Linked DNA regions of Homo sapiens: regions 1, 2, 3, 4, 5 and 6 are each linked to region 7. Evidence: promoter capture Hi-C in 16 types of primary human blood cells and fetal thymus (Javierre and others, 2016). All regions are on one chromosome and are shown on one strand. Each heading gives the region's core, a stretch centred on a gene start or on the middle of the fragment in contact. The rest is flanking DNA. Distances are from core to core; before and after follow the strand shown.

Evidence for each region. Contacts are between HindIII fragments. The CHiCAGO score rates a contact against its expected background, and 5 or more counts as called.
Region 1: a contact is called between a fragment that was not itself captured here and the fragment with the promoter of ZNF362 in region 7, in 2 of 17 cell types (M0 macrophages and erythroblasts). The highest score is 6.4, in M0 macrophages.
Region 2: a fragment that was not itself captured here is called in contact with the fragment with the promoter of ZNF362 in region 7 in 1 of 17 cell types (total CD4 T cells); the score reaches 5.2 in total CD4 T cells.
Region 3: a contact is called between a fragment that was not itself captured here and the fragment with the promoter of ZNF362 in region 7, in 1 of 17 cell types (neutrophils). The highest score is 5.6, in neutrophils.
Region 4: a contact is called between a fragment that was not itself captured here and the fragment with the promoter of ZNF362 in region 7, in 4 of 17 cell types (M0 macrophages, M2 macrophages, naive B cells and 1 more). The highest score is 7.5, in M0 macrophages.
Region 5: a fragment that was not itself captured here is called in contact with the fragment with the promoter of ZNF362 in region 7 in 3 of 17 cell types (naive CD4 T cells, erythroblasts and total CD8 T cells); the score reaches 6.1 in naive CD4 T cells.
Region 6: a contact is called between a fragment that was not itself captured here and the fragment with the promoter of ZNF362 in region 7, in 1 of 17 cell types (M0 macrophages). The highest score is 5.4, in M0 macrophages.

The regions. Positions count from the first base shown.
Region 1 is chr1:33,456,862-33,459,561 of GRCh38, forward strand. No RefSeq gene overlaps it. Among named protein-coding and RNA genes, the nearest start is that of ZSCAN20, 14 kb to the right of the region's middle. The HindIII fragment of the contact is 645 bases long and covers 931-1,575 here.
Region 2 is chr1:33,044,451-33,047,150 of GRCh38, forward strand. No RefSeq gene overlaps it. Among named protein-coding and RNA genes, the nearest start is that of AK2, 8.9 kb to the left of the region's middle. The HindIII fragment of the contact is 3,184 bases long and covers 1-2,700 here.
Region 3 is chr1:33,396,636-33,399,335 of GRCh38, forward strand. All of the region lies in intron 1 of PHC2 (polyhomeotic homolog 2), which reads right to left. Among named protein-coding and RNA genes, the nearest start is that of PHC2, 33 kb to the right of the region's middle. The HindIII fragment of the contact is 941 bases long and covers 803-1,743 here.
Region 4 is chr1:33,477,564-33,480,263 of GRCh38, forward strand. ZSCAN20 (zinc finger and SCAN domain containing 20) reads left to right here. Exons shown (of 8, transcript NM_001377376.1): 2 at 1,616-2,142. The coding sequence starts at 1,726. Among named protein-coding and RNA genes, the nearest start is that of ZSCAN20, 6.3 kb to the left of the region's middle. The HindIII fragment of the contact is 259 bases long and covers 1,133-1,391 here.
Region 5 is chr1:33,427,593-33,430,292 of GRCh38, forward strand. All of the region lies in intron 1 of PHC2 (polyhomeotic homolog 2), which reads right to left. Among named protein-coding and RNA genes, the nearest start is that of PHC2, 2.2 kb to the right of the region's middle. The HindIII fragment of the contact is 2,058 bases long and covers 330-2,387 here.
Region 6 is chr1:33,497,454-33,500,153 of GRCh38, forward strand. ZSCAN20 (zinc finger and SCAN domain containing 20) reads left to right here. Exons shown (of 8, transcript NM_001377376.1): 8 at 1-2,700. Among named protein-coding and RNA genes, the nearest start is that of ZSCAN20, 26 kb to the left of the region's middle. The HindIII fragment of the contact is 4,309 bases long and covers 1-2,700 here.
Region 7 is chr1:33,255,086-33,257,785 of GRCh38, forward strand. It overlaps ZNF362 (zinc finger protein 362), which reads left to right and starts at 1,407. Exons shown (of 9, transcript NM_152493.3): 1 at 1,407-1,569. RefSeq lists silencers at 796-895, 1,338-1,397 and an enhancer at 1,863-2,157. The HindIII fragment of the contact is 6,922 bases long and covers 1-2,700 here.

The DNA.
Region 1 (2,700 bases), core at 3-2,502, 200 kb after region 7:
AATAGTCATTTTGTTTTGTTTTGTTTTATTTATTTATTTTGAGACAGGGTCTCACTCTGTCATCCAGGCTGGAGGGCAATGGTGCAATCACAGCTCACTGCAGGGTCTATCTCCTGGGCTCAAGTGATTCTCCCACCTCAGCCTCCTGAGTAGCTGGGACTACAGGCATGTGCCACCACGCCCAGAAAATTTTTGTATGTTTTTGTAGAGATGGGACTTCACCATGTTACTCAGGCTAGTCTCAAACTCCTGGGCTCAAGCAATTTACCTGCCTTGGCCTCACAAGATGCTGGGATTATAGGCATGAGGCACCACCCCTGGCCTATAACAGTCATTTTAAACTGAGTACTTTAAAAGTTGAACTAATTCTTCTAAATCTGTTCTCCCACAGTCTTGGCATCATCCTTGACTTCTCTTTCCTCACACCCCACGTCCAACTCATCAGCCAATGCTGTCAGTTCCATCTTCAAAATATATCCAGAATTTAACCATGTCTTAACCTCTTAATCCCAAGTCTATCACCAGGGTTCAAGCCCACATTATCTTACACCTGACTTAATGCAACAACTCCTCACTTATCCCTCTGCTTCTGTCCTCATGCAACCACCACTATCCCCAGCAATTCTGCTCTTATCATAGCAGCCCGAATGATTCTTTGATAGTATAAACAGGCTTGTGTCACTCCTCTGATGAAAACCCTCTAATGACCCCATATCTCATACAGAATAAAAGCCAGAGTCCTGACAACAGTCTACGGCGCCACCCTGAGCGGCTATGCCCTGCAGATGTCTCTGATTTCATCCGCTATCCCTCTTCTGGCTCATTCCACTTTAGCCGCCCTGGCCTCCTGGCTTCCACCTCCCACCTTAGGGCCTTTGCACTTGCTGCTTCCTCTGCCAGAGAGATGGGTGGTTCCCTCTCCATTCTTCAAGCTTCTGTTCAAATGTCACCTCACTAGAGAGGTCTTCTTAGACACATTACTTAAAATTCTACCTTGATTCCTACCCTTGTTTCTCCCCATCCACCTTCATTGCTTTATTTTTCTTTCTTTCTTTTTTTTTTTTTTGAGATGGAGTCTCGCTCTATCACCCAGGCTGGAGTGCAGTGGCGCAATCTCGGCTCACTGCAAGCTCCGCCTCCCAGGTTCACGCCATTCTCCTGCCTCAGCCTCCCGAGTAGCTGGGACTACAGACGCCCGCCACCACGCCCAGCTATTTTTTTGTATTATTAGAAGAGACGGGGTTTCACTGTGTTAGCCAGGATGGTCTCGATCTCCTGACCTCATGATCCGCCTGCCTCAGCCTCCCAAAGTGCTGGGATTACAGGCGTGAGCCACCGTGCCCGGCCCATTGCTTTATTTTTCACCATATAACTCATGATTATATAATATATTGTATATTTACTTTAAAAATTGTCTGTTTTCTCCCATTAAAAGTAAGCTCCACAGTCTCAGGAATTTTAGATGTTTTGTTCACTGCTTATTCCCCACCACCTAGCGCAGTGCCTGGCACATTGTTGGGTGAATAAATAAAAACTACAATTGTGCTTCTGTCACCTTCTCCTTATAGTTCTAAAAGCTTTGATGTGTGTGTTTTGTGGCTCTAGTAATAGAGCTTTTATTATTTCCACATGATCCTCTTTAATCACTTAATGATTTGTCTTAAATTCTATTTTGTTTTCATATTATTGTTATTATTACCAAATTATGTCTTTTCATTGTTGGAAAGACTTCAAAGAGTTTTATTTTGTTTTAGGTTCAAAGTCATGCTATCTGCTAAGAAAATAGGGTGGGAGAACAGAGCCTCTCAATGTCCTGGGAGTATTGTTTTGTCTCAGGCAAAAGTTCCTAACGTGGTGACTCATATTTAAAACCATCAGTCTTGTAGCATTAACTCATGGTTAGTAAAAACAGACACACACACACACACACACGCATGCATACACACAGACACATCTACAAACAACAAACCTTCCAGAATACAAAAGCAAAAACCCATCACAGGTGGGCAGAGCTTACCAGGGAAAGAGAACAGCTACTGCAAAAGCCCTTAGGTGGAGGTGGGCGTGGCCCTTCTGATCAGCAGAGAGAAGGCCAAGTGTGTTGGGAAAGAGAGAGAGAGAGATGGGGGGAGTTGCATGGTTGGTATTCAATGGTGGGTGAGAACCAGCTCAGGTAAGGCATTGTAGGTCAGACAAAAAAAAATTATAAATGTGATGGGAAGCCATTGAAGGGCTTAAGCAAGAGAGTGCTGTGATATGGTTTATATTTTTATTTATTTATTTATTTATTTATTTATTTATTTATTTATTGAGACAGAGTCTCGCTTTGTCTCCCAGGCTGGAGTGCAATGGTGCGATCTTGGCTCACTTCAATCCCTGCCTCCCAGGTTCAAACAATTCTCGTGTCTCAGCCTCCTGAGTAGCTAGGATTACAGGTGCCTGCCAGCACACCCGGTTAATTTTTTTTTTTTTTGTATTTTTAGTAGAGATGGGGTTTTACCATGTTGGCCAGGCTGGTCTCAAACTCCTGACCTCAAGTGATCTTCCCACCTTGGCCTCCCAAAGTGCTGGGATTACCAGCATGAACCACTGCGCCCAGCCATGGTATATTTTTAAAAACTCACTCGAGATTCTGTGTGGAGGATGGGTTGCAGGGGGCAAGAATGAAAGCAGAGAGACAAGTCAAGAGACCATTGCCAT
Region 2 (2,700 bases), core at 6-2,505, 210 kb before region 7:
CCTGTCTCTACTAAAAATACCAAAATTAGCCAGGTGTGGTGGCATGTGCCTGTAATCCCAGCTACTTAGGAGGCTGAGGCAGGAGAATCACTTGAACCTAGGAGGCAGAGGTTGTAGTGGGCTGAGACTGTGCCACTGCACTCTAGACTGGGTGACAGAGCAAGACCCCATCTCAAAAAAAAAAAAAGAAAAGAAAAGAAAACTCTCCACTTCTACAGAACTTGCAGTCAAGCGGGGGAAAAAAACAAAAAAAACAACAAATAAGACATTGACGGAGTCTGTGCTGGGAAAGGTACAGGCTTCAGTAACAGCACAATAGAGGAGCCCCCAGCTCAGATTTGAGGGGAAATGATGTGTAAGTGAGATGAAACCTTAAGAACAAGGAGGATTTGCTTAGGGAAGAGAGGGAAGAAGGGTATTCTAGACAAAGGGAATGGCATGTGCAAAGGCCTGGAGTTAAGAAAGATTATGACAAGAGGTTGGGCGTGGTGGCTCATGCCTGTAATCTCAACACTTTGGGAGGCCGAGGTGGGCAGATCACCTGAGGTCAGGAGTTCAGGACCAGCCTGGCCAACATGGTGAAACCCCATCCCTACTAAAAATACAAAAATTAGCCAGGTATGGTGGCGAGCATCTGTGATCCCAGCTACTCGGGAGGCTGAGGCATGAGAATCACTTGAACCTGGGAGGCGGAGGTTTCAGTGAGCCAAGATCATGCCACTGCACTCCAGCCTGAGGGATAGAGCAAGACCCTATCTCCAAAAAAAAAAAAGAAATATTATAGAAAGTTGAGGGGAACTGTGATATTTGGCAGAGGAACACCCCTCTTGTGTTGTGGAAATCCTTCACTGCAAGGAACTTGGGGGAAAACAGAGCCACCCTGCAGAAGCTGAAAGGGCAGACTCTTGCCTGCCTTCTTGGCAACAGGGGAGTGAGCACGTGACCAGGCTTGGCCAGTGGGATGTCCTGCCCAGGACTTTGACTCTTGAGGGAGAGAGAGGAAGGGGCAGGGCCTGTTCTTGGTGGGGAGGTAAGAGTCCAGCCTCAGTGGGTGGACCGTGGCCAGTGGTGGCTGTCCAGGTAGGCTTTTCCTGTGCCATGTCTTTGGCTGTGTTCTTAGCCTAATTACTTTTGGTTCCTACTCATGTTTGGAATTGGTGAAAACCTCACAGTATTCAATAAATTCCTTCACTGCTTAGGTTAGCCACCAAGACTTCTGTTTGGTACAGAGTTGAAAGAGGGTCAGTCTGGCTGGAGTTACAACTCAAGAGGGTAAGGAAAGAAAAAAGGGGGAGAGGAGACAGGGTCCTATGGGAAATTCTCTTGGGGGCTTTTGTGGGAGGCTTTGCTTTCCAGGAAAAAGAGATGCACAAGAAGAAAAACTCCCTTCCTGCCTGCCTCAGGGATGATGCAGCGCTTGAAATGTAGCAGCTATCTTGGGACCAGGAGGGGAGAGCTGCGAGACTCAGAGGGAAGCTGACCTAGGGTCTGACATCACTGAGCTGCTGAATTAAGCAACTCAGATGTCACCTTCTTCCACACTTCCTGTGATGAGAGATAAACCCCTAATGTTCAAACCGCATCTATGTCGGCATTCTGATACTCACTGCCCAAAGCACCTTATGTGACATGGCAAGTAACTTAACCCTGCTGGGCCTCAATTTCTCTTTGCAAAATCAGGATGCCGATACCCACTTCACAGGATCACAGTGAGTATCAGATTACATAATGGATGTAAAGTACTTAGCACGGTGCCCTACTCATGGTAAGCACTCAGTAAATGTTAACTATTACTACCTGCGTCAAAGACATAGAGGAGATGAGCTTGTTTTGTGGGAGGGTAGAGAGGAGAGAAGAATGACGACTAAAAGCTGGGAAGCCAACACTTGAGGGGAAAGGAATCAGAGAATGACTAGAGACTAAAGAAGAAAACCTGAAATTTCATTCTACCCACCACATCCTTTTTTTTTTTTTTTTTTAAGACGGAGTCTCACTCTGTTGTCCAGGCTGGGGTGCAGTGGTGTGACCTTGGTTCACTGCAACCTCTGCCTCCGGGGTTCAAGCAATTCTCCTGCCTCAGCCTCCTGAATAGCTGGGATTACAGGTGCCTGCTACCATGCCTGGCTAATTTTTGTATTTTTAGTAGAGGTGGGATTTCACCATGTTGGCCAGGTTGGTCTTGAACTCCTGACCTCAGATGATCCCCCACCTTAGCCTCCCAAAGTGCTGGGATTACAGGCATGAGCCACCGTGCACGGCCACCACATTCTTTTTCTTTTTCTTTCCCCTTTTTTTTTTTTGAGACAGAGTTTCACTCTGTTGCCCAGGCTGGAGTGCAGTGGCTCGATCTCAGCTCACTGCAACCTCTGCCTCCTGGGTTCAAGCGATTCTCCTGCCTTAGTCTCCCAAGTAGCTAGGATTACAGGTGCCCACCAACAGACTCGGCTAATTTTTATATTTTTAGTAGAGACGAGGTTTCACATGTTGGCCAGGCTGGTCTTGAACTCCTGACTCAAGTGATCCACCCACCTCGGCCTCCCAAAGTGCTGGGATTACAAGCATGAGCCAATGCCCTCAGCCCATTCTATCAATTTTTATCTGCCCTGTAAGGCCTTTGTTGATCTTTCCTTCCTTCCCAAGCCTGGCCTTTGTCCCATCTCTTCACTTAACTCTGTTAAATGTGGGGTTCATGATATCAGC
Region 3 (2,700 bases), core at 23-2,522, 140 kb after region 7:
GCCTGTTAAAGCCCATGGCCTTCCTCTGACACAATCTAAGTGCTGTTCACAGCCAAGGAACCCTCTGGTATGGGGAGAGAGTGGCTTGTGGAAGGCGGCTTCCTGCCCCGTAACTGATAAGAGCTGCGGTCAGAATCCTTGAAGAGTTTTCACAAAAATTTGAGGTAGAGGCTTTGCAAGCTGAGATGCATTTCTTTGGAGGAGACACTCTGAGCTGACGGACAGCAGCGTCCTCCTCCCACACAGACACAAGAGGAGGCCCCTTGGTACAGCACTTCCTATGGTGTTCACTTTCAAGGCTGAAATGGAGAATGCCACTCGCTCTTTGGTTTAGTGTTAACACGAGGAGTCTGGAATCAGATGGTCTGTGGGAAGGCCTGCTCTGCCTCTTACCAGCTGTGTAATATTGAGCACATTCACCTCTCTAAGCCTTAGTTTCCTCATCTGTGAAATGGGGATAATCACAACACCTACTTCACTGAGTAGCTGGGACAATGAGAGGAACCATATATTCAGAGCATTCAGCACAGGGTCTGGCAGCAGCACCATCACCAGGCACCAGAGGTCAAATAAAAATCTTAGGAAATTGAATGCCAGGGTTCTCCAGAGGGAGCTGCTCAGCTCTGAAGTAAACATTACCAGGTGCTTAGTCCCGGGAACAGGTCACAGGCCAGTAGTTGAGGGCCACTTCTTGAGTCTTTGGAGCATGTTGAAAATGCAGAATCTTGGGCCCCACCCCAGACCTGCTGAATCTGAATGAGCATTGCAACAAGATCCTCTGGGTCATTCACGTGCACATTAAAGCTTAAGAGGAATTGTTTTGAGCCATCCTCTTAATTATAATCTTACCCTGTTAGACAAGGAGGAGACTTCGCAGAAAGGTTAAGTAACTTGCTTACAGTCCATCCATGGCAGAGACCAGATGAGGCCTCGGTCTCCTGACTCTGAGACTGGTCCAGATTCAGCTGTGGCCCTCCTGAGTCTGTTCCTCTGGCAGCACGGCAGCTCTCTGCCCTCTTTGTTTGGGGTGGTCTCAGTGGGTGATTTTGGCTCTGCCTCAGGGTACATCCACCATGCACTTTGAAAGGAGATATTCCTTTGGAATATTGTTGGGGGTTATGAAGCCTGGTTACCAGGATGACCTCTGCAGAGAATACTGATGCGACAAAGGAAAATACCCTTGATGACCTCTGCAAATGCTTGCCTGCCCTTTGAACTCAAAATGCTTCAGATAAGGATACACAAGAAATCGCAGACAGTGATGCCTCCCGGGGAGTAGGGGGAGGCATGCTTTTCACCGTATACTCTTTTGAATCTTTTGGACTTTGTTCCCTGTGCATGTAAAAAAATACTTAAAAATTAATTGTTAAATAATATTACAAGAATGCCTCAGACAGATTGCAACTAAAAACAAGACCCCATCTGGCTCTGCCATTAGATCATCTAGCCCTGCTTATGATAGCACTGCTTTTTGCTTCTCTTTCCTCCTGAAACCTGAAACTGAAAAGCATTGTGGAAAGGCTCTAAGGCTTGAGTGCAGAGGTAGACTCTGGTCTTGCTTCAGCACTATCAGATTCCTCAGCAGGATGTGAAATGCTTTGCAACATTTTAAATGACATTAAGTAAGTGTAATTATGATTTAAACCCCACCTCTACCCCCAGTAAATCACAGCCAGAGGAAGGAGAGAACTTTTGTCTAATAGGCTTCCCCTAGATTTGGAATAACCAATCAAAATGGCACTAAGCTTGTTACAAATGTAATATGCATAATATAATCCCATTGTTAAGTACATGTTATTTAATGTATAGCTTAGCTGGGAGGATAGATACCAAATGTTAACAATGGCTGCTTTGGGTGATAGTGTTACTGCTGATTTTTATTTTCTCATTTATCCTTTTCTTTATTTTCCAAATGTCTATGTATCTTAAAGTATCTGGGCTTCAACATCACAGTATTCTTAGCACAAAACATAAGGGAAAAGATGCTCACTTCCCATCTGAACATTCATTCACAAGCTGGTAGTGCAGTTCTGCCCACATTGGTCCTCTGCATTGAAGTACCTGCTGAACGAGGGGCTGCAGGCATTCTTGGTTTCCCAAAGCTATATTCCAGTAGATACAGGGACTTTTTGGTAGTTTTCAGAGCTAGAAAGCACACACAGATGGGAGGCACTGGTTTCTAGGATGGCTTCACAACAGAGGGCACAGTTGGCTAAAGTCAATTCCTGACCCAGACATTGACCATGAAGTGTTCTTGGGGCAAGTCCAGTTGACCTCGATAGCCTCGCTGATTGTTGCTTGGAGGGTAGGTGAAAAAGACACGGTTTCTTTCTTCAGGCAGTCTGGGTCCAGAGTTCAAGGAGTTTTACAGTATTGGAAGAACAATGAAACTATATACAAGGCAAAATGTGAAAAATTCTACTACAGATGTACAAAGTGAACAGTAGAACAAAACAGTGTGTGGGGTTGGGGTATTCAGGCCTGAATAGGATCCACCTCTGTCCTGCATTATGAGTGTGACTAGGACAAGGTGCTATGCTACACTGAGTCACTGTTTCCTTGTCTTTAAAGCAGAAAGAACAATCCTTGAAGGGACCCTACAAGGAATAAAGAGGATGTGTGTAAGACTTCTAGAATAGTACTCACACACAGCAGGTACCCTACAAAAGGTGCTGGAAGTATTATTACTTTGGACACTGA
Region 4 (2,700 bases), core at 12-2,511, 220 kb after region 7:
ATACAGTGTAGAAAGTGGTAAGTGTCACAGAGACATGGAAATAAAAGAGAAAGGAATTCCTTTTGGCATGAGCGCGAAGGTCATTTATTTTTTATCTAGTGTGCACAGAAAGGGATTAATTGCAATCCTTGCTTAATGACACACCATCATCATTAGTCAATCATTCGTGACTTTATTATTTATTGAGTACTTCCTATATGTGCTGAGCACTGTGCTAGGTCTCTTGGGAAGCTAATGATCTAGTGGGTAAGAAAATTACAGTAAAGCATGATCTGGGCTATGGTAGAGAAAATGTAAGATGCTATGGGAGCTTGTGGTCGAGGACTGAATCTTGTTTCAGGGTGCAGGGAAGGCCTTACGGAAAAAGAGCAATTTAAGCTGAGACCTTGCTAGCTGAAGGAAGGGAGGAGACCATTCCCAAAGGAGACCTTCCCAAAGAGGGGAAGGTTCAGAGGGCAGCGTGGTGTAAGATCTGGAAGCTGTGCTTCTGGAGCACCATGACTAGTGGAGCATGGTAAAGAGACGAGTTGGAGACTTGGGTAAGGCTTGTGCTTTGTCCTGAGGGAAATGGTAGATCACTGGAGGGTGTTTAGCAGGGAGGTGGTGTAGTCAGGCTTTGATCTAGTTTGGTTGTTGTGCAAACAATAGAGCAGAGGTTGGGGTGAGGTGAGTGGAGGCAGGGACGTGTTAGGAGACTGATCAGGTGGAAGACATGATGATTCTCTGCACTGAAGTGGTAGCATTGGAGATGGAGATGCCAAGTGGACACAGCGTGGTGATGAATTGGATTTGGGGATCTTAGAGAATGATGATGACCAGGTTTCTGGTGTGGAGAACTTGATGGCAGTGCCTTCACTGAAGGGGGAGCTTCAGAAGGCAGACATGATTGCAGGAGAAAATAACAAATCCAGTTTTTGACTCATTGAGTTTGAGGTGCCTAAGGGACAGTCAAGTAGAAGTGTCATGAAGGGGTTTGGATTTTGGGGTCTGGAGGTCTGGAAACAGGTCCTTGCTGGAGTTTTAGGAGTCATGTATAGGGATGATGAATAATGCCAAATAGGTGGGATGACCAGGGGATAGCATAGAGTTGTTGGATTTTGCAAGGAGAACATCCTTAGAGGAATGCCAGCCAAGCTTTAAGATTAGGGAAGAAAGGCCTTAGGAAGGGGGTGACATTTGGAACCCAACTTGAGGGAAGGTTGGACTTTGGACATGTGTAGAAGGGAGGAAGTCTACACTGGACCAGATCATGGAGGTGTGGGATGCCAGGCTAAGGTGTTCAGGCATGACCTAGAGGATTGAATACAGTGCTGTCTTCCTCCAAAGTGTGAGGCTCAAATGAGATATTAATTGACATTTTGTGAGCACTCACTGTGTCAGACACTGGTCTAAGCTTTTTATATATAGATCCCTCATCTAATCAACCCAGCAGTCAAGTAAGGTAGGTGCTACTGGCTTTGGTGCCAGATTGTGGCCTTACTTCCTGCCTATGGGAAAGGGGCATCTCTTAGCACCTCTGCCCCCATGCAAAGGTGGCGGAAGATATGGGGGAAGGGGGAGAATGAAGCTTCTGCATCCTTTTGCTCACACTCTATCCTTTGTCTTTCTGCCTTAGAGCCTTGGGGAGCAGTCCCTTTTCTAGGAGCCTCTTGAAGGACTCACCGTAGATGCAGGAAGACATTGGATGAGGTCAGCATAGCTGAAGTGAGGTGTCTGGGTTAGACAATGGCTATGGCCCTGGAATTGCAAGCCCAGGCATCTCCGCAGCCAGAGCCTGAAGAACTCCTGATTGTGAAACTGGAAGAGGACTCTTGGGGATCAGAATCCAAACTCTGGGAGAAGGACCGTGGCTCTGTCTCTGGCCCAGAGGCCTCCCGCCAGCGCTTCAGGCAATTCCAATACAGGGATGCAGCTGGACCCCACGAGGCCTTCAGCCAGCTCTGGGCTCTCTGCTGTCGTTGGCTGAGGCCGGAGATCCGTCTCAAAGAGCAGATCCTGGAGCTGCTCGTGCTGGAGCAGTTCCTGACTATCTTGCCTAGGGAGGTCCAGACCTGGGTGCAGGCACGCCACCCTGAGAGTGGTGAGGAGGCTGTGGCCTTGGTGGAGGATTGGCACCGAGAGACCAGGACTGCAGGACAGTCGGTGAGACAAACAGTCTTCTCCTGCAGAGGAGTGGGTCAGGCAAGGCAGCAGGGTTGTGACTACGTTAATAATTGCCAAATTCACAATAAAAATAACAATAGTTATTGAGAACTGACACTTATTGACCACTACTGTATACCAGGAAGTGTTCTAAGTGCTTTACATGTATTAACCCACTTAGTCCTGTCAACAATTTAATGAGATAGGTGCTATTATCCTAATTTTACCAGTGAGAAAACAGAGACAGAGAAAAGATAGGTAAGTTGCCCAGGGTCTCAACAGCTGCTAGATGGTAGAGTCAGGATTTGAACTCAGGCATTCTAACTCTAAAGCTGGTATGCCTAACCACTACTCCAAACTGCCTCCCACTACCGTATTCACAATATGATTAACTCGTGTTTTATACTTAACAAAATCTTTCTGCATATGTGATGTCTCTGAGTGCTTATAGCAGTAATGTAGGTAGACAGAAATAGTACTGTTGTCCCCATTTTATAGATTAAACTAAGAGCCAAAAAGTTGGCCGGGAGTGGTGGCTCACGCCTGTAATCCTAGCAC
Region 5 (2,700 bases), core at 109-2,608, 170 kb after region 7:
CTGAAGCTATCATTTTCAAAAAGTTACCAATGACCTTCTGTTTACTAAGTATAATGAATGTTTCCCACTCTTTCTGTACAATTTCAAACTGCTGACGAATTTCTGCAGCTCAAAACTTTTTCTTCTCTTGACTTCTGTGATACTACACTCTCATGGTTAATAGCGTGTCTAACTGGCCTTGGCATCTGTCAGGTACACAACAAATGGTGGTGAATAGAATGCATTTGTTGGATAAATACATTAGATGGTTCTCTTGCTTCTTTTCTTATTTTCTACCATACGGACTCCATGCCTTCTCCCTCCCTCCCTAAATGTGGGATGTATCTTCAAGCTTCAGTCCTTCATCCTCTATTCTATTTCTATGCTGTTACCAGCAGTGAACTCAGCTAATCATATGGCTTCAATTATCACCATTTTTTTTCTTTTCTCAACTCCTATAATACCACGCATTAAGCATCTCAAAAAGGTACTAAATGACTGCTATACATTTGTGATTTCATTTAGTCCTCACAACTATATTGGGTAGGTGGCATTATTACAGATGAAGAAACTGAAGTCAAAGTCATGTAGCAAGTACCTGGTAGAACTGGGATCCAAATCTTTGTTTAGCTGAGAATAACCCCCATACTACACCACCACTCTCATTTTCCTGTCTCCTCCACATCACAAATACAGGATAGTATTTGCACACAAGCAGGTGTTCAGTAAATACACTGACTGAGAAGATTGCTTAAATACCGCCCATGATTTTCCAGCACTTACAGTATCATCAATCTTAGCAGACCGTATTAAGCATGTCACCCCAGTGACACCTTCTTTACACGACTTGATCTGTAATATAATTCAAAACAGGAAATTTGCCAAAAACTCACCATAATCCATTCTAAAAATAAATGTGGTCTAAGCAAAGCAAAAAGGCCTTTATCTGATTCAAATATTAGAAGAGTTTTGGGGATGAGGTCCACTTTGCTACTCTGGGCCCAACCTTGCTCAGCTTCTAAATGATCAGGAAGTAAAAATAGGCTGGCTAGTTGATGGCTAATGAGGTTAAATGGACTATTTATAGTTCTAGAGATAGATGCTAAGACAGCAGAATGGGATTTTCTCTGCTCTGTTAGCTAAGACCTCATTAAAAGAAGCCCAATGCATGAGACATGGGTGGAAACTGGGATGAAGAGAAGAGGATAATAGTAAGGAGGGAGGGTGAACAGAAAGGAGGAGGCATTGGAAAGCCTATGGAGGGCCTGGCCCAGTCTGGCAGATCCACCGCTGTTCTGCACAGCTGGCACCATGCAACAGTGGGCTCAGCTGCATGTGCACGATTCATGGTCTCAATCCTGGACTACTTGCCCTGACCCATCTCACACTCCAATCCTCTCTTAATCCAGATCCTTCCAGCTTCTGATCTTACTACTTATTTCCCCAGGTCTCACAAATTTGACATTCAGCATTGCTTCCCTAGTTATGGTCATGTATTCTCTTTTTGTATGATTTAGATTTGCCCCTCTCAGATGCTGCCTCTAGTGCCAAACATTATGCCCAGTTTCAGGCCCTCTCCCTTGGAGCAACTGAAAACTACTCCTATTCAACCTCCACATGATGGACCCTTACTTGGGAAGATATGGGTGACAAAGACCAGGAATGAGGCTCAGAAAAACTGATGAGGGGAAAATATGGGGGAGAAAACAATAAGAAAAATATCACTGGACAACTGTGCTGGGAATAAGAAATTCTAGGCTACTTTTAGAAAGTTACATTACAGAGGAAGGAAAAAAAGCCATAGTTACAATAGAAAGCCATTCCCTAGAGATAACATATTCTTTATGTGGCTGCATTCGCTGTTCCCCCGCTTTGGCTGCCTTTTCAGTCCTTTCCAATTTTCTCTGCAAGGTAAACTCCTATTTATCCTTCAACACCTTGCTTAAATGTGTTCTCTGGAAAGCCTTCCCTGGTCCTCTCAGACAGCTAATTGTTCCCTCCTCTGTGCTTCCAAAGCCCTTTGCATTCACATCTATTATGCTGTTAATCACTTTTACTAGCAATTTCATTTGTTTCTCCTACCACTTCTTTCAGGACAAGGACTAATTATCTTATTCATCTTTGCATCCCCAAGACATAGCAGAGTGCCTGGCATATGCCAAGTATTTGTTGTTGGGTGATAAAAGACATCAAGAGCAACGTGGAAGTGGAATTTGCACTTCACTTGCAAAATCAAATTGGTTTCTGGTACTTTTCAATTGTAACCGCATTTTCTCTTGATTTAGAAGGAACGACTTTAGACTCACAAAAGAAACTCTATTGATATCACGGGCGCATTAGCCGATTTTTCATCCCCACTGGTGATAGAAATATTTTTTACCCCACACTTCCAAGAAACTCCCAGGGCAAGCTTAGTATCAGTGGCGCATCTCTCCTCCTACCATTTCTATTGTCGCAAAAGCTAAATTACACTGTGAGCCTAAAGCTGCCACCAGTCTTAGTGAATTGGGGGAGGGGGATAATTACAAGAAGACACTTCTGTAGCAGACCTGGGGAGGGGGGAAGATGAATTTAAACCTCGCCTTATAAGAAATTTGTTAGACACTCACGTAGAACAGCCGCTTCCTCCGTGTATGACAGACCCGATCCAGGTGTCCAGCAGCGACCTTTTCCCATGGGTGTCAGGTCATCACTCAGCACAGAAAACAAGGGACCAGCGCC
Region 6 (2,700 bases), core at 145-2,644, 240 kb after region 7:
GCATGGATTCAGGGTGGGGTTGTATGATGGGAGGTTGGGAACAGGGAGCTGATATTAGAGGAGTGCTGGAGCAAGGTCACTGAGGACCTCACATGTGAATGGAGTGTCAACACCAGGCCCGGGGCAATGTTCAGATGTGCATGGTTGAAATCTGACAGCTGAATGGAACTTGGACATGCTGCAATTAGGATGGCCTTTTGGGACACTGTTGTGGTATTTCAGCTAAAGGCTAGGGTCTGAACTAGAGCAGTGGTGACACTGAGGAGGAGGGAATGAATGGGAAAGGTCTCAGAGGCAGAGGGGAGGACATCAGAGGAAAGCTAGAATGCCTTTGGTGACTGGGTAGAGCATGTCCTCATTCAGAATTGGGAGCACAAGGAGGAGAGGCTGATAGAGCAGGAGGGCAGAAGATGAGAAGTTTAGTTTGGTATGTCTAGAACTTGAGGTGCTTAAGGGAAATCATGGTGATGCTATGCATTTGGATGTCGGCTAGCAGCTAGGGGAGAGGCTAGGACTAGAGATCTGTGTATGCGAAGTAGTTAAACTAATGAGAAAGGAAGAATTTCAGTTTCAAATATTGGGCCTAGGACAGAGCTACTTGATAGTGCTGAATGGAGAGGAAGATGGCCCTCAAAGGAGATCTAGACCATTCCCCACTCCCACCCACTACCATCATGTTCTGGACCCTGTCTTCTTTGTTACTGACCCCTGAATTCTTCATGTAGCCCTGAGTTTTCTGGAGCCCTCACTGTGGAAGTCAAGCTGAGCTCTGTGTGGATGTGAGGTGGTAGTCCTCTCTCCACTTGGTCACCCTTTCCCCTGGGTTTGGTAGTGTGTTAGTGTCTCATATCTTTAGTGAACAGTTTTGATGTTTATTATCTGCCATTCTTGTCTCATGAATCTTAATAGAGGTTCAGTCATGAAAGCAAGGCCAGTGTGGGCCAGGTGAGAAAATGGCCCAGGTGGTCCCTTCCTCCTTGTCTACCTGACTTCCTTTGGAAGAAGCACTCTTTCAGGGGGCTTCAGTGTTCCAGGCTTGCTGTCTACCCAAGAGCTTGCTGGGCACCCAGGCGCCCTCCAGTAGGTCTGTGCTGCTCAGATAAACTGACATCTGGTTTTACACACCCTGAGCTTTGCTAGCGTGATTCTGCTCTTGGGAAGTAGATTCACTCTGCAGAATGGGTGGACAGTTTCTCAGCCTTCCTGGCCACAGGTCAGACCCTGGTTATGGAAAACCAAACCAGCAAATGCTGCCCTGGGAGGGTGTTACATCATGTGAGCTGCTAAAGGCAGGATCGTCTCCCCAGATGGCTGCCTCCCCTTGATTTCTTCACCCTCCACCTCAAGAAGGGCATTGGCTCCTCTGAAGGGACAAAAAGGTACCTAAAGGACCTTAGGCCTCCCATTCCTCAGACCCCCAGAGGCAGCAGACCCAAAGGTAGGGGCAGGGAAAGGAGGGGCCAAGACTTTTTCAGATACTCGGTTTTTTCTAAGGCCTTGACCTCAGCAGCTGAACTCATGGTCATGGCTGCCTTGGCCTTATTGTCCACTGTAGCCTCCTCCCAGAAGCCGAGTAAAGCAGCTAGGGTCCCTCCATGCTAAATAATGTAGTCAGGCGCTCTGGGTAGTCCGTCCTGCCTCATCTTGTTCTGGGGCCCCCAGTGGGGATAGCTCTCTGCTTTCGGGCTGCAGAAAAGAATTGAGTCACTTTCTGTAGGGGAGTAACACCCTTTGGGGACAGGGGTGCAGTTTTGAAGTAATGAAGGCAGTGATGTCTGGAGTGGGTGTGGGTGTTGCAGGTGAACTTGCCTCACCCAGGCTGTTCTGGGTCTTTGTACTCCAGAGTTCTGTCCTAGGCTTGCTTCTTCATTCACTCTGTTTCCCTTTCTCTTCTTTTTTTCTTTTCCTTTCTTTCTCTCTTTTCTTCTGTGTAGATGCTAATGACTTCCAGATCTGTGTCCTGCTGTGGCCTCTCCTCTTAGGATCCCAGCTGCCTGCCAACCAGCTGTGCTTGGGTGACTCCTGGGCATCTCAAAGCCCCGGTGTCTACCATCACCCATCATGGGGCTCTTGGCCTGCCCATTCAGCACGTGCATTGATGTACACACTCAGTGACTCCCATCCAAGCCTCCCCTGCACGTGCCTGGAGAGACCTGCCCATTGGACTCATCTTGGACTCAGTTCTGCCAATACTTTCTCCCTTCTAAGAGCATTTCCAGTTGGGCTGGAGTTACCCAGCTGCCTGAGAGGTCTCTTTCTGAATGAAGTCAATATCTAAAGTCAAAATTAATCATTCAAAATATTCCCTTACCCCATTTTTTTTGGGGGGGAGATGGGGGTCTTGTGTTGCCCAGGCTGGTCTTGAACTCCTGGCCTCAAGCGATCCTCCCACCTCAGCCTCCCAAAGCTCCCCTTAACCTCAGTTTTGATCCCATCCTCCATTTGGGCATTGCTCAGCTCCCCCACCTGTTAATAGCAAACACCAATCTCAAGCCCCTGCCCCAATCTGCTACAAGGGGTTAGTGTTCCATGCAGTGGGAGTGCAGGGAAGGCTTTACAGGAGAGGAGGGAGTTGAAATGGGCCTGGAGGCCTGGGATGGTAGACACTGGATCCTTTTCCCCCACAGCTCCTGGCTGTTTCTTCACACTCCCAGCATCACTATTACTGCTAGCATGTCTTTAGCATCATTTTGCCCTCCC
Region 7 (2,700 bases), core at 157-2,656:
TCTTGTGCCCCTGCTCTGTGCCAGGCACTGTGCTTGGGGATTGAGAACAAGCAGTCCCTATGGGCCCTGTCTTCGAGTTGCTCACAGTGTTTGCCATCCTGTGCTGGACTAGAATCTTCGTGAGGGCAGGGGCATTATCCAGTTTTTTAATAGCTGTGCTCCAGCCAACCAGCTATTAAAAACAGTGGTTGATGTTTACTAGGTCCTCTATGAATATTTACTGAATTTGGAAATGCTTCCTGGAGGACAAACGCTGGCAGATGATTGTTTATCTCTGTGCCCTTCCCGGGGGACTGTGCGCTCCCTGAGGGCAGGGCCAGCCCTGATCCATCCTGGCCCAGCGGTCGGGGGGTGGTGGATGCCATAGAAATCTAAGCCGGTGAAGGGATCCTGGAACCGGCTGCCTCCTCAGGTAGAAGTGTAAGTTTGGAAGCTGACACAGCTCGGGAGGCCGAATCAGGAGGACTTGGTGACTGATTGGCTGGGGAGGGTGAGGCGGGAGGAGGAGTCACACAGATGGCTCTGAGGTCTGGAGCCGGGGGACAGCCGGTGCCACCTCTGATAGACTCTGCGAGAGGAGCCACTGCCAGCTTCGGGCCGCCCCATCCGTCGGGGATCCGGCCTAGGGCTAGGGAGGGGTGGCTGGGCCTGTGCAAACTTCTACTCCCCACCCCTATGTCCTCGTCTTAAAAAAAAAATCGGCCTGGATTTTGAGCAGGTCGTTATCAGGGGTGAGGGTCCATCCTGGGGGTCCCCTCCAGGCGGCCGTCTTCGAGGGAGACCCCCAGGGGCAGCCTGGCACCGCGCGGGCTCGGCCTGGTCAGGGCCGTGGCCCGCCAGGCCCAAGTCCCCAGCCTGCCATCACCCAGGAGTGGGGTGGCGAGGCGGCCGCCGGGCCTGGGCAGGACAATGGCCACGGCCGCCGGGGCCCCGGGAGCCCCCGCGCTGGGGAAGGGGCTGTCCTAGGGCCGGGCGCCGGTGCCCTCCCCGCGCGGCTCAGGCGGGCGGAGGGGGGCGAGGAGTTCCTTTGTGGCTCTGCCTCCGGCGCGGCGCGGGCGGGGGGCGCAGCGCAACTTTGCCAGGCGGTGGCGGCGGCGGCGGCGGCGGCGACGGCGAGCGCGAGACGAGGCCCCGGGGCCCGAGTGGGGGCCCCAGCGCGCGGCCCGCCCCCGCCCCCCGCCCGGCCCCCTCCCCTCTCGCGCAGTCGCCAGCGCCCGGCGCTGCCCACTCGCGGGAGCCCCCGGGGCCGGACGGGCTGCGCAGCCGGAGAGGCGGGGGCCCGACGCGGCCCCCCCGGAGCCGGGCGCCTGGCGCGGGGGCTCGCCGAGCGCACTGGGGGCCGCGCGGCGCTGCAGACCCAGCCTCCCGCCGCCGCCGCCGCCGCCGCCTCGGCGCTTGCAGAACCCAGAAGTGAACAGCAGGCGACCCGGAAGGTTTGCGCGCGGCTCCGCAGCGAGCCAGAGCCGGAGCCCGAGCCCGGAGCCTGTGCCGGAGCCCCAGCCCGGCCCTGCTCGGGCCGCCGGGCGCGGGGCTGCGGCCGCGTCCCGGAGGCGCCGCCAGCACAGCCAGGTCCGTGCGGGCCCGGGGCGCGCGGGGAGCGGGCCCAGCGGCGGCGGGCGCCTGCCCGCGGGAAAGTTGCGCCGAGTTGCGGGCGGGGGCCGGGCCGGGGCGCGGGCGCTGTCAGCGCGGGCCGGGGCGCTCCGAGGGCCCGGGGCCGCCTGCGCCTCGGGCCCGGCCCAGAGCGGCGGCGGCGGCGGCGGCAGCGGGGCGCGCGGGGTAGGAAGTGTCTCCCGCGGCGTGTCTGGGGCTGGTCTCCGAGTGTGTGTGCGTGTGTGTGTGTGCGCGCGCGTGTGTGTGTGTTTTCTTAAGCCGGGCTATTCAAACCCTGCTGCAATTCTCCGGTAAACAATGATTCATGGGGCATAATGCAAATAAACGGATTGCAAACGGCGCGGTTCGCGCACTTTGCAGCCGGCCCGGTGGAGCAGCCAGTGCCGGATTTCTCCCTTTTTTTGCAGATCTGCAGAATATGGCGTCCCTGTCCTGTTTTAAAAATAAGCCAGGCTGCCATTTTTGTTTTTCTTTTGTCTGAAAATTTTAATAAAACTGTCTGAGAATGTGGGAGAGGCGGCTGGAAGCAGAGGGGGCACCCGAAGGGTTGGCTTTTTTCCTTTTCTTTGGCGAGAGCCGCGAGCCTTTCGGGGAGGTGAGACACAATGCAATTGCACTTTAAAGAAAAAAAAAAAGGGAAGCTGCCGGGCGATTTGAGGGGGGAGGGCTGGGAATTTAAAGTTAACTCCGAAAGTTTGCTTTGCTTTGCTTCTCTTTCTTTCTTTCTTTCTTTTTTTTTTTTTTTGGAAGGCGGTGAAATGCCGCGAAAGGATCTCGAGGCCCATTTCTCCCCCAGCCAGCTGCCTTTGCAGGATTTTTGGGAAAAGTTAACTGCCGGTTTCCTCAGAGCTGCGCGGGATGGGGGTGGGGGGGCGGATGTGGAGGGTTGAGGATGGGAGTTTTGGGGGAACTGGGAAACATTTATTTGGAAGGGGCTCTATAAACATGGCATTGTAAGGAGCTAGATCCTCAGATCTGGGGGAGAGGGCCGGCAAGAGGGGCTCAGAATGGGTCCAGGATTTCCAGCAAAGACCCCTGGCATGAGGAAATAATCCTGCTGTCCCACCACCCTGCCCTCGAGCAGTGTGG